Regions from separate parts of the Homo sapiens genome. Here all the other regions are linked to region 1. Evidence: promoter capture Hi-C in 16 types of primary human blood cells and fetal thymus (Javierre and others, 2016). All regions are on one chromosome and are shown on one strand. The core of a region is centred on a gene start or on the middle of the fragment in contact, and the rest is flanking DNA. Distances in the headings are between cores, read along the strand shown. Region 1 holds the start of KL (klotho). Region 2 has its middle 210 kb from the start of LINC02344. Region 3 has its middle 95 kb from the start of RFC3.

Region 1 (4,571 bases), core at 441-2,940:
GAACACTAAGGAGAAAAAAGGAGGAAGAAATACTTGAGACAACTTTACCATGGCATAGCAATATTTCCTGCTGTCAAAATTAATAAAATATTTTGCACAAGGGTGTTACAATTAATTTTATCAGGCTAACAATGTCATAAGTGAGGAACCCTTTCAACTGTAGAGAGCACTGTGGAAATATAGATGTGGTAGAACAATCTATATCACCCTGCAGTTGTTTCTGTGTTTCTATGACTAGCTTTGTTTGAGATTGTATAAAGCGGTCTTCACACCCCGGTGAATAAGATTGGTGGATGCAGTTCCCTGCCCTGCCGCAGAAGGGACCTCCAAACACAGTTTAAATCTGACTCTCCGGGAGTTGTGTTTTGACACTTTCACAACAGTGTGAACTTGTGCCACAAGCAAGACAGATCTTATTGGATTAACACTGAACTCGTGACAGCTCCAGAGAGTAATGCTATCTGTGCGGCTTAAGAACAAACGTGTTTCTTTCATCCACCCTGCTCATTCTCTTCCTGCAGTTACTCCTAGCAAATCCTCCCCGCCCTCACCTCTAGGAATTCCTCTACACCCAGAGAAAGGAGTTTCTTTCCTCACTGCGGAAACCTATCACCGCTTCCTTTCCACAGATGGACTCCAAGGGGCACTCACTCGTGTGCCCACTAAGGGATTTCTCTCCTAATTCCACGCCTTCCAAGGGAAGTCAGAACTGCTCAGTTTCCCCCGGTGACCACATACACGTGTCCAAGTGAAGCCTCGTCTGGGGGAGACTCAGTTCCCACACTTCCCCCTGGCCCCTGTGGAGGCCCTCTGTCTCCCCTGCGTGGCCCTCCGCCTGGCCCCTCGCACTCACCAGGAGGAGGTTGTGCGCCACCAGGTACCCGAGCCGCGGGCTGCCCCGGATGCCGGGGGCCAGGCGCCCGGTGGCGTAGCCGTGCCAGGCCACCACGTAGGGGTTGTCGATGGTGATCCAGTACTTGACCTGACCGCCGAAGTGGCGGAAGCAGAGCTCCGCGTAATCCCTGAAGTGGTCGGCCAGGGCGCGGTTGGCCCAGCCGCCGTAGGCGTCCTGCAGGCGCTGGGGCAGGTCCCAGTGGTACAGGGTGACCACGGGCTGCACGCCCAGCTCCCGCAGCCGCTCCAGCAGGCGCCGGTAGTAGCGCAGCCCCTCGCGGTTGGGGACGCCCGCGCTGCCATTGGGGAGCACTCGCGCCCACGAGATGGAGAAGCGGTAGTGAGTGACCCCGAGCTCGCGCAGCGCCTCCGTGTCGCGGAAGACGTTGTTGTAGCTGTCGCTGGCTACGTCCCCGGTGGCGGGCTGCAGCGGCGACGGGGCGCCCAACGGCAGACTGGCGTTCCGGGAGTCTCCCGGGGGTGCCAGGGGGTGGTGGGTGAACGTATCCCAGATGGACGCACCCTTGCCGTGCTGCTGCCAGCCGCCCTCGGTCTGGTAGGCGGCGCTGCCCACGGCCCAGAGGAAGCCGTCGGGGAAGGTGCCCTGGAAGAGGCCCGCGGCCTCGGGGGCAGGAGGCCGCGAGAAACGGGCCCAGGTCTGCGCGCCGTCGCCCGGCTCCGCACGCAGGCGGCGGCCGCCCAGGCCCAGCAGCACCAGCAGCAGCGACAGCGACGGCGGCGGCGGCCGCGGGCGGCGCGGCGGGGCGCTGGCGGGCATGCTGCGCGGGAGCCAGGCTCCGGGGCCCCGCGCCGCGCCCCTTTATGCCCGCGCCCCGCCGCGCCCGCCCGCCCACCGCCGGCGCGCCCACCCCCGCTCCCCGGCGGGCTCCGCTGGCAATAATTACCTGCGAGCCGGGACTGCCTCCGCCCTGGCACTGGGGGCGGGGGCAGGGGCGCCGAGGGCGAGGGGTGCCCGGGAGGGGCGCGGCAGCGGGCAAGGTGCGGCAGGCGTCGCCCGCGGACGTCGGAGAAAGGCACCTGTTTCTCCCAGCTCCCGGGAGCCGTGCAGGACGTTTCGTGGACGCTCAGGTTCATTCTCTTTGCCTGCCGCGCGTCCTCTGAGAGCAGCCCTGGAGCGGCTTCGTCGGGGAGAAAAGGCGCCGACCAACTTTCCCCGACTTGGGGGCGGGATCCTGCCGGGCCCTAGCGGAGCGCGCCGCTGGGGAAGCACCTGCTCTCACTTTTCTCCCACTCGGAGGCCCAAAGAAGCTCCGGCTGGACATTGCTGGAGCCAATTAGGGACTGGCCGAAATCCTAGAGGGACTGCCAGGTGGGACAGCCGAGGGGGAACTTCGCCGTGCGCTGAAAGGGATTCCCCCTTAGGTGAGATGCTCGCGGGGAGACGCGCCCACCCGCGCCCCTCTTTCGAGGAAGACAAAGTAGATTTATGGGTTGCGTTGGGACTGGGGTTTTGCTCTCCCTTTTACTGTTACCTTTTAATAATTTCAAACCAGCACTCTATCTTTGATTAGATCTCTCAGAATACCCTGGTGAACTTCAAATCACAGTCGTTGATTGTTCTCCTGAAAAACCAAACACCAAGTTTCCAATTTTGAGTAAATCTCATTCACCTTTATTATCCTTTGGCATCTGTGTTACCTTTCGGCTCTGACTTAGCAGGTAATCTGTGCAAAGTTGTGCGCACAGGTCTGCTGGAGCGGGAGGTCCCTGGGTCGCACATTTGCCATCTGAGCTGTGGAGGGAAAGGGGAGGGAGAATTTAGCCGGAACACCCATTCCCATCCTCTACAATACAATGGAGCCATGACGTTTTTCCTGTTGCCAAAGAGCCCTTTTGACAGAAGTTGCAGAGCCACAGTGTCCATTTGGATGTGGGTAGATAGGATTGTGGCTAACCGAAATACAGTTGGTGGAGACTGAGAAGGTCTAGGCTCCACCTTTGTGATTTGGGGCAGGAAACCTCTGTAAGCCTAAGTTTCCTCCTCTATAAAATAAGGATGTCCTGTCTGCCCTGCCGCCTCAGAGGCTTGTGAAGTCCAGTGAAAAACTGCGCAAAGGTGACTCAAAGACAGAAAGCCCAGACAAGTGAAGGATCTTGCTAATATCCCTACCTCCCTACCCAGTAAGTCGTGCCTTAGTTTCCTCACCCGTACACGTGTGTTGAATGACCAAGATCCTCACAGAGGTGCATCCATTCTCCCCCAGTGATCTATCTTCCCTGCATTATTTAATACAAATTTAAAGGCAATAACATTTTAAATGTTGCAGATGAAGGTGCTTTTATTAATTCCCCTGAAATATAAGCACAAATTTATTCCAGTATTTTATGAAATATTCCCAACTCCAGCCAGCATATATTACCATGATTAGTAAGATTAAGTCTTCAGATTGAAACAGAGTTACTGCCATTCTGTTAAATATAGCATTTACATTTTTTCAATAAATACGAAATAGCAAACCATGACACTTCAGCAATTTTAAAAAATTACAGCACACAACTTCACTGTCACGCTGTCTTCCAGCTAAATTTAAAAAGCTACGTCTACATGGAGTATCACATTTCCCTTCTAGAAGTGAAGATTGGAGTGTCTGTTGGGTTGTAGCTTGTTAAGTTTCAATTAGAAATGCTTCATGGGTCTCATGGAAAATCGCTTAAGCTAAGTATTCATTTATTGATGTATGGTCTGTTTGCTCAGGGCAGATTTTATCTATTGCTATTTTTACTTGACCAGCAGCATTTTTTAAATTTTAAAGCAGTGATTAAAAAGCAAGACCAAGTTAACTAAACGTTTCACATTTGAAATTTGTCTGCCACATAGGCACATGCATCTCAAAGCTTTAAGCATTCCAAGACATGTTCCCAGATGATTGTTCATTTAACCCAGTGATAAAGATTGCATGATGATTAAACTTTATTTCCAGAACTTTCTGTTTATTAAGGTTCTGTTCATGGTTACTAAGTTCTGGGTTCCACAAGTGTGAGACGGAGTCTCACTCTGTCGCCCAGGCTGGAGTGCAGTGGCATGGTCTCTGCTCACTGCAACCTCTGCCTCCCAGGTTCAAGCAATTCTCCTGTCTCAGCCCCCCAGTAGCTGGGATTATAAGGGCACACCACCACACCTGGCTAATTTTTGTATTTTTAGTAGAGACAGGGTTTCACCATGCTGACCAGGCTGGTCTCAAACTCCTGATCTCCTGTGATCCACCCACCTCGGTCTCCTAAAATGCTGGGATTACAGGTGTGAGACACTGTGCCCGGCCTAGTGCTGCTGCTTATTTATTTTGGCTTTATTTTGGTTTTTATTTTTTACAACCACCTTCAAACATCTGAAACTTGGGTTTCAAATGCAAATAAGAGATTAATTACTTGCTGTGCTTTGAACAGGAAGGTGAAGTTATTGATGCATTGAAGAAAAGGACATTGTAAATTTATTTACTGACTTTGATTTTGGTGACAATTTCAACACTGAAAGTTGTCAACAATCTGATCAACTTTTCCTCCATTCTCCACATTCCTTCATCCAGTGCCTTCCCACCTGTTCTCTTTCCTATTGTGTTCCCAGGACGATGGGAGCCTTTTAACACCAATGGAGCAGGAGATGCACTGATTCACATGCACCCAAATACAACACCAACCCCACAAGCTCTCAGCTCACC
Region 2 (4,479 bases), core at 420-2,919, 530 kb before region 1:
AGTTGTTTTAACTTTTTCCTTCACCTAGCATTACTTATCAACATGATAGTTACATTCCCAAAAACTATATTGTAAAAGAAAGCAGGGATGAAATATTTAAGACCTGATAGGAAAAGCAGGTTTAGGAGATCAGAGTTATAGTGAATCTAAAATAAAGGCTGATGGCTCATTAAATAAATCAACTAATGGCATTTTAAATATTTTTAAATAGAAAAAATTGGCATTGTTCAATAACTAGTATTCCTTCTTCCTAACAAACTTTTTATTTCATTAACCTACTAATCATCTAAGATTCTTATGAATATGTTTTTCCTTCTTGTAAATAAAAATTGTTATGAAATATTTTTTCTTGGATCTTCATGAAATGAAAAATGCTTTTAAGTTTTATTATTCAATTACCTTATTTAGCCCTGGAAAATTGAAGAAGAAAATGCCAGTGCACTGTGATATAGTCTTAAAATCCTTCTAAATGCATTGTTTTATATTCAAAAGAACTTAATGCCAAGGCATAAATGACCACAGCAGAGCACTGCTCTACCCTAAAGGTTTTACATCCCAATTCCTTTCCTTTGGCTTATGTTGTCTCAGTTTTCTATATTTCTCTCAAGGTTACGTTACAAAATTATCTATACATACTTGCTCTTCCATATATTTTACCTCTTCTTCTCAGGGCCCTATGTTTTGCTGTAATTTTAAAAATTATCTTCAAGAAAAATTGCCCAATTTTTACAAACATAGTATCCTAAATTCCCACATTTGTGAAAAAAGTATAAATATGTAAATACACATATGTAAAATTTTGTACAGTAGGAATGTTCATTGGGGAAACGTTACTGAAACTGACACAAAGTGTTTAACAGAAATTTGCTTAAAGGGATCAAATTTCACCTGGCATAGGAACATATTTAAAACAGTGGGGTTGACACAATAGCTACATCTGTGTAACCAAACCATCAAGGCTGACAAACTAAATCCAGTTGTTAGTAAAGTTAATGACTAATTCTGATCAATACATGGCCAAAAGAAAAAGAAAACACTGTATCATAAGAGCTGAAAAACATCTACTGGGAAATGACTATTTTGTGAATACTTAAAAGCCTTATAAATGTACTATTATATTTTCACTTTTTCTAAAGTATTATAATTGGCAGGGCTCAAATTAGTAAAGTTAAATATATTTCAACATTTTATTAAACACTGAAAATATTTTATCCATATCAAGTATCAGGGGCTTAAAATGAGCTATTCCAAAAAAAAGTATCTCTCATCAATACTTTCACTTTAAAAGAATTATTATAATTTATCCATATATGAAATACAAAAATTATTAGAACATGTATTAGGCTTAAATTGATTACAAATAAAAAACATTAATCTTGCCTGTAATCCCAGCTACTCAGGAAGCTGAGGCAGGAGAATCACTTGAGCCCGGGAGGTGGAGGTTGCAGTAAGTGGAGACTGAGCCACCGCACTGCAGCCTGGGCGACAGAGTGAGACTGTCTCAAAAAAAAAAAAATTAATACGACAACACAATAATAAATAAATTTAGCTCATCACAAGGGAGCATGGTCATTAAAATGAGTTTAGCAGAATAGTCAATTCAAACTTATTTCCAAAGACTAACAGTATAAATTATAGGCAGTTTGAGATTTAAAATGTGGCAAACCAAAAATAGGGCAGTATAAAGGCTACAGAGACTCAACTACCAATGAATGACAAAGAAAAACTGGCCCAATAGTTAGTCAAAATGTGACTATTAGTACTATTAGGCTAAAATTAAAAGTATTAATAAGTCTATTGATTATAGCAAATAAACCGCCAAAAAGCTCTAACAACTAAGACCCCTTTAACAGCTGAATCAACTTAATTCTTCTTAGACAAATGCTTTTTGCCACAAATATTCATTATACATCCATTTACATATTATGTTCTTAGAAAATAAGAGAAAAAAATCAGAAAAGGAGGCTTCCACATAATAATAGGAATTATTTTTGAAAGAAAATCTGACGTGGGAATCCTAATCTAATTACTGTATCAAAGTCAACCAATTCTTGGTTGAAAGTAAACTACAGTATCATTTCATAAGAGTGTTTACTGATGAAATTAGCCAGGATAAATTGTAATGTTAACAGCCATAATAAATAAATGTCATAAAATACTAATTACTTTTAGTCAACAAAATAAGGTTATTTAACAACTGTCTTAGTCCATTTATTTTTCTATAAAGGAATACCTGAGGCTGGGTAATTTATGAAGAAAAGAGGTTTACTTGGCTCACAGTTCTGTAGGCTGTACAAGAAGCATGGTACCAGCAGCTATTTCTGGTGAGGGCCTCAGGCTGTTTCCACTTGTGGGTGAAGGTGAAGGAGAACCAGCATGTGCAGAGATCACATGGTAAGCGAGGAAGCAAGACAAAGCAGCAAGAAAATCGATAGGAGGGAGGTGCCAGGCTCTTAACAACCAGCTCTGACAGCAACTAATAGAAAACTCACTCATTATCACTAGGAGGGCATCAAGCCCTGTGTCAGGGATCCACCCCCATGTCTGAAAACATCTCCCATTAAGCCCCACCTCCAACACTGGGGATCAAATTTCAACGTGAGATTTGGAGGGATCCAACAAACCAAATGATAGCAATAATGCTCCCAAAATACAGCAGGTATATGAAATATAGCATTACTAATGAAGTGTCCTTTACATCTTCTCTGCCTGCTTCATTAGTGAATTTATTACAATAAAGTTTAAAATAAGGCAAAGAACATTCACCTTTCGGGCCAGGCACAGTGGCTCACGCCTGTAATCCCAGCACTTTGGGAAGCCGAGGCAGGCGGATCACGAGGTCAGGAGATCGAGATCATCCTGGCTAACACGGTGAAACCCCGTCTCTACTAAAAATACAAAAAATTAGGCCAGGCGCGGTGGCTCACACCTGTAATCCCAGCACTTTGAGAGGCCAAGGCGGGTGGATCACCTGAGGTCAGGAATTCGAGACCAGCCTGACCAACATGGAGAAAACTGATCTCTACTAAGGAAAATACAAAATTTTAGCCAGGCATGGTGGCACATGCCTGTAATCCCAGCTACTCAGGAAGGCTGAGGCAGAAGACTCACTTGAACCTGGGAGCAGAGGTTGTGATGAGCTGAGATCGCACCATTGCACCCCAGCCTGGGCAACAAGAGCAAAACCCCGTCTCAAATAAATAAATAAATAAATAAAACAAAAAAATTAGCCAGGTGTGGTGGCACACGCCTGTAGTCCCAGCTACTCAGGAGGTTGAGGCAGGAGAATCGCTTGAACCCGGGAGGCAGAGATTGCAGTGAGCTGAAATCTGGCCACTGCACTCCAGCCTGGGCGACAGAGCAAGCCTCCATCTCAAAAAAAAAAAAAAAAAAAAAGAGAAAAAACAACAAAAAAACAAAACCATGCACCTTTCCCTGATTTAAATGATTCATCAGTAATTATCCAAATACATGGTACTAGCCTATTAGGGAAATACCATGGTTTTAAGACAGTTGTTCTCAATCTTTTTTTTCTTCTTTTCACGAAGGCCCATTCAGGCTAGAGCAGAGAGGGGGAAGCTTACATCCAGTAAACAAAATAGCAGTGATTTAAATAAAACTGAGACCAGAAAACCGACTGCTTTCTACATTTTAGGAACTGATTATCATAAACATAAACTTATCTAACAATATCTGTATTTCTATTTGTAGCAAGCACAAAAGTTACAGTGTGCAGCACACTTTAATCACTGCGTGATTTAATTACTGTGTCAATAAAGGCAGTGGCACAGTCAGAATTTGACAGAATTGAGAAAAGTCCTGCTGAAAAGATGAGACAAGTTCTGAGATGATCATTTTTTATAATGTAAGCACTGTGTACATTTATAAATGGCACGGTAGGGATGGGAGTGGGCTGGGGGTAGAGAATTCCGTAAAACAAGGGAACTTGAGGAAATGCAAAAGACTGAAAAAAACCTGGCATCTTCCAAAGGGTAAAATTAGTATGATTGTTTAAACTATTTTGTCCTTAATTTTAGTCATTTCTAATTTAACAGCTAAAGAACAATTACTGTATAATAACTGAAATATTTAGTATACTTGGTATTACAGCACCCTCTATCACATGATCATATACAGAATACATTTCTATGAACTGGTTGCTTTAATCTGTGAACATTTATGTAGCTCTCTACTGGTTCTAGGGTTTAGTTTACTACTTCCCATCCACGGAGTCAAAAGGACTACTAACTTGTGCAGGCTTAGTATCACCAGTATATTTTAGTACCGTCTGTCCTGCAACAGCAAAAAGCATTATTGACAAAGCAATCCTGAACTCTAAATTATTCCAGGTGTGGTCCTAGTACCAACAGCATCAGAATCACCTGAGATTTTACTAGAGCTACACTAATCCAGCTGTATCCTCAGACCTTCCCTCCCAGTTATAACCTCTGGTGTTGAGGCCCAGCAATCTGTTTTAAC
Region 3 (4,812 bases), core at 1,139-3,638, 710 kb before region 1:
AACTTTTGTTCTTTAAGCCTCCCAGTCTGGGGTATTTTGCTGTGGCAGCCCAAGCAGACTAATACACAACCCAATTAATAAACACTAATAGTGTCTAAAATTATTCCACCATTCTAGAAAATTATTATTTTTTCATTATCCACAGTCATTGCTTTGTCCTGTGACAAAAAAGCCATGTAGCTGGAAGCCATCTGGGTGGCAGTACAGAATTAAGAGCCACTAGAAATTAAGTCCATACTCTCCCTGGAACTCAAATTCTACCAAAAAATAAATTTTAAGTGAAAGTCTAATGGAAGGAAGAAGAACATTTGGAGCAAGTGTGAAATCAACATTCTGCTCCAGGTAGGCACCATTTGATGGGGAGTGATCCTGAGTGCAGGGTTGGGGAACGGGGTGGAACTTTCCTTTGTGCACAGAACTGGGACTAGAAAACAGTGATTAGGAAAGCAGTCAAGTGACTGATAAGTACACAAATGGAATAGCCCTTGGGAGTTTTTGAGATTGCGTTTGTTTGAAGAAAAGAAGAGCATTTTCTTCATATTGATATGACATTGTATTTGCCAACTGGTATTTACTAGAAGCCCTCCAAGTTCATGATTCACACCTGAACATTCCACATTCTTTAAAATTGTAGTGCACCCTTCATAACTATATATTTAGTATTTTTATAAATTAGATTACAATTTAATTGGAGAATACAATATCAGAAAAATTATCCAAAACTTAGAAATATTGCCTAATCAAATGTGCTACTTGTCTGGCCTTCCACAAGAAAGCACATGAGGAACTAAGACATAATTTTTCCTTCTTATTTGTAAAGTCTAATTCAAAGTTATTAGCTCAGCACAGTAAATATACGTGCTAAAGACTGGGTGAACAATGGCAAATAAACTTTGAAGACCAAATCCTCTTTTACAACTAAAAGTAACATTACTGAGCTTTCTGCAGGATTTTCTGGGTAAGTTTTTCTGCATGGCCAGCCCCAGCAAGGCCCCGAATGCCTGGTTTGCTACTTTCTAATCCTGTAACTTCTCTTCCCATAATAATGTGTAGCTTGTAAGGCCTTAGCTCAATTTTCCAGATGATTTCAGAGACAAAGAATTGCTGATTTGTTACACTAATCTTGACATTTCAAATTACAACTGGAAATAATCTTCCTTAATTAGTCATGTTCTTTCTGTTGAAAATATCAGACATTTGACATATTTGTTTAGCAAATATGTCGATTTTCTGGTCTTTATGGTCTTTCAGTCCCATGTTGATATTCACATATTAAATTTTTAGCTTGCTCCACAGCAAAGATGCAAATATATATGTGCATATGTATATTATATATGTACACATATAGTATATGAATCTACAACCATGCTTGGGGAATACAAGGTATAATATGAATATTATATATATATTCATATATATCTATATATATTTATATATGTGAATCTACAACTATACTTGGGGAAAACAAAGACTTTATCCAGGCTCACCCAGAATGGTTATGAGAAAGTGAAACATTCTTTTCTTCCCTTAATAGGCAAATACATAGTTTAAAAGCTACCTCCCCAAATATGGGAGAATCTTTAGAGAAAGTGTTAAATCACAATAGCATTAAATGTACATTTACTATCAAGTCTTTTGCAATAAAAGCTGACATTAACTTTTTCTCTACAATATTTACTATAGCACTGTGCTTACCCAGGCTTTTATTAATATATGTTTATTTCTGCATTTCCATTTCTCAGCTACCTTTTATATTTTAAAAATTACAGAATTTATAGAAGAAAATTGTAGGCTGATAACAAACAAAAAGGTTTTTCGAAATGGCTAGCATTTGCTCCCAGCAGGGAAAGTAAAGGAATAGTTGCTGTATCCTGAGCCACCCATCCCGGCCCAAGTCTTTGTCCTGCTGAAGTGGTAAATTCTCCCAGAAACGCAACACAAGGTGGTGCTGTTGTATTTATCCTAAACCAGCTGCCAGCCTGGCCACTTAGGCTGTCGGTTTGATCTGAAAGTGGTAGGTGTGTACCAAAGGCATGGGTTTTGCATATGTAGATGTTTACAGTGTAGTCCTCCTTTCAGATAAGAAAAGATAAATAGAAGAAGGAGGAAGAGAGTAAGTTTCTCCACACATGGAAGCTTCTGGAGAAACTGTCTTAAAAAAAAAGAAAGTGCATGGGTTCCTTTTGTTACTAAATTATAGGAGCATGGAAAGTTAGGGCTAGAAGAGATAAAACATTATCTAGCCCATCTTCCTATCTTCAGAGAGGATTTCATTTATAAATTATCAGCCAGTTAAACTTTTTCTTTTGGTTTTAAAATTTTCCAGGGAGGGAGATGCCACTTGCTCCCCCAGCAAATCAATACTCCCTAGTGTTGGGAAATTGTTGTGGACATATGTGCACTTCCTCTTGTTCTGAATCCAGAGGGTATGGGAAGGATTTGATCAGCAGATGTGCCTAGTGAATGAGAAGCACACAAAAAAAAAATGAATTACAAGTCAGGGCTCTGGATTCCTCTCCCTCACTTGCTTAGCTGGGACAAGGTGGGCCTCAGATTTTGCATCTGGAAAACAAAGAGATTGGACTAACATCAGTGGGTTTCCACAAATGGCTGGATCTCAAAATCACCGGGGAAGCTTTTTAAAAAAATACAGATTCCAGGGCCTTGCCTATAAATTTGCTCAGTCAGAAAATCTAGGGCAGGGCCCAGAAATTGCACTTAAAAAAAAATCCAAAAGAACTGTTTTCCTTGGAAAACATTTTTCTTGTCTGAAGACATGGAAATTAGCTAAAAATGTGTAGGCAGGCAGCCCAGCACAGATCTAATGACTGGTGCATAGGTACCACTAGATTAAATAACTCTTAAATCCCATCTGATTTTATGATTTTCCAGGTATCCTTAAAACAAAAGCCCTTGAAAAATAGAAGTGAATTATCCCAGATCTAAAGAATTTCCTCTTGAATCATATTCCCAAGCCTTTGAGTAATCTGCAGTATGGATTTACAGCAAGATGTTTTCTAAATTTTTCAAGCACATGAAATTGGGAAGTCCAGGAATATTATTATAGTAAAGAAAATCCAATAAAGTCCTTGTGTTCAGTCCAATGCCTACACGCTATTCTATTTTCTGGTTACTGTAACTATGAATTAGTTGACAGTTATGAAAATAGTATTTGGACTCTTTCACTTTCATTTTTATAAAACTGGAAAGTTAAAAAACTAGTCAAGTACTTGGCCCATGTATAAATAGATAAGTCACATACTGGCAAATTGAGCTGTATAAAAGTTACTTACACAGACAAAAATGTCTCTAAAGTCTCTATGTAAAACGTTGGCTTTCTGACTCTGAGACTGTCTAGTATCAATGTGAAATTCAGTAACAATGCAATTCAGATTCTTATACCTCAAATGTCTCATTTGAAAGAATCAGATAATTGAAGTATCATTTGTTTATTCTCGTTTATAGTATCAAGGTAAATAATTCTGCCTTCCATTTCCCCTTGCTAATGTAATGTGACCTCAATGTTACATGTTACTAAGTAAATCAATTAGGAGATTTGGCCTGTGTATGTGACTCTTGCAAATGGGTAATTACACCATCAAATAGAAACTTATACACTCTTTGCAAGCCAGTCTTGAAGTCACTTCCAAATAGTTGGTTCTCATTATTTGTACTTTAAGAGCCATTTACAGGTCTAATTAAATTGTTTCTCAGGAATATAAAGATCAATGTTTCCAACCTCATGAATTGAATATATAAAAGAATGCATGAGGCCCAAATTAGCATTTCGTTTATTAAAATAAGTCAGTGTTGGAGCTGAAATCCATTAAATGACTTTAAGTAATCTGTCTGTTAAAGCTTTCAAACCACCTCTCAAAATCTGGCCCAGCTACCACCATTTATCAGTTACAAATTTCCATATTCCTCTGCTGCTCAATCATGCTGTACTAAATTATCTCTGAGATCATGTCTTGTGATTCTCATACAGTAATAACATCTGCATTTCCTGGATTTTCCATGAGCTGTGTCATCCTTTCAAGATTGTTCAAGAACATGTTTGTTCCTTTTATCAGAAGGACAGCAGCACTGCAGATCTTTTCCTACCAAGAGTCCCAAGCTCCACTGAATAAAAATAGCCTTGTGTCCTTTGGAATGCTCTGAACCACTTGGGGAAAAAGAATGTCTGTCATCGAATCACTATCATTTGTAATGTCCTCTCCAAAAGAAAGCCAAGGGGGAAAAATGCTAGAACTATTTGTGACCTCATGAAATACAAAAGAAAATTTACTTAGAACAATACAGCTTTTCTTTATTGTATAGTCCCCACTTCTTTGAACCACACCAATTTTTGGTACCAAACTTTGTTCCTCTTGTGTACAGGCTCTGAGCATGAGGAAATCAGTTGATGTCTCAGTAGTTGGTGCTTTGATAAGCAGATAACCTGTTTTGAACAAGGTTTATCTGCTTTCACTGCCATTACTACTGCTGTCTCCCAAAGACTCAGGATGCCTTCTCCTTGGAGACAGAAAACTTCATTCCTTATTTACCCACAACCCCTATTCAGTGTTGTTATTGAACTGTAGACTACAATGAAAGATTGCAATTCTTCAGTCGGCTCTGTTTTAGTTTTGTCCTTAGTCAAGGTACTGAACTTCTCTGAACTTGAGATACCTCATCTATAAAATGGAAACTGCATGCAAGTGTTGCTTGCGTGGAATTAAGGATTCCAAAAGATAAAGCAATCTTTGCTATGGACTAAATGTTTTTATCCTCCCCGCCGACAAATTCATATGTGGAAATCCTAAGCCCTAA

What was found. The method cuts DNA at HindIII sites, captures the fragments that hold promoters and counts their contacts. A CHiCAGO score of 5 or more calls a contact.
Region 2: a contact is called between a fragment that was not itself captured here and the fragment with the promoter of KL in region 1, in 1 of 17 cell types (megakaryocytes). The highest score is 5.4, in megakaryocytes.
Region 3: a contact is called between a fragment that was not itself captured here and the fragment with the promoter of KL in region 1, in 2 of 17 cell types (M2 macrophages and M0 macrophages). The highest score is 6.6, in M2 macrophages.

What each region holds. Positions count from the first base shown.
Region 1 is chr13:33,013,542-33,018,112 of GRCh38, reverse strand. KL (klotho) reads right to left here and starts at 1,690. Exons shown (of 5, transcript NM_004795.4): 1 at 854-1,690. The coding sequence starts at 1,672. It overlaps LOC124903151 (translation initiation factor IF-2-like), which reads left to right and starts at 1,660. Exons shown (of 2, transcript XM_047430819.1): 1 at 1,660-2,277; 2 at 4,478-4,571. The coding sequence starts at 1,671. RefSeq lists enhancers at 665-724, 933-1,510, 1,511-2,086 and silencers at 795-894, 1,585-1,654. The HindIII fragment of the contact is 5,190 bases long and covers 1-3,752 here.
Region 2 is chr13:33,543,688-33,548,166 of GRCh38, reverse strand. It overlaps a transcript of STARD13 not described here. Among named protein-coding and RNA genes, the nearest start is that of LINC02344, 210 kb to the right of the region's middle. The HindIII fragment of the contact is 3,825 bases long and covers 1-3,581 here.
Region 3 is chr13:33,721,158-33,725,969 of GRCh38, reverse strand. No RefSeq gene overlaps it. Among named protein-coding and RNA genes, the nearest start is that of RFC3, 95 kb to the left of the region's middle. RefSeq lists a silencer at 1,856-2,025. The HindIII fragment of the contact is 499 bases long and covers 2,139-2,637 here.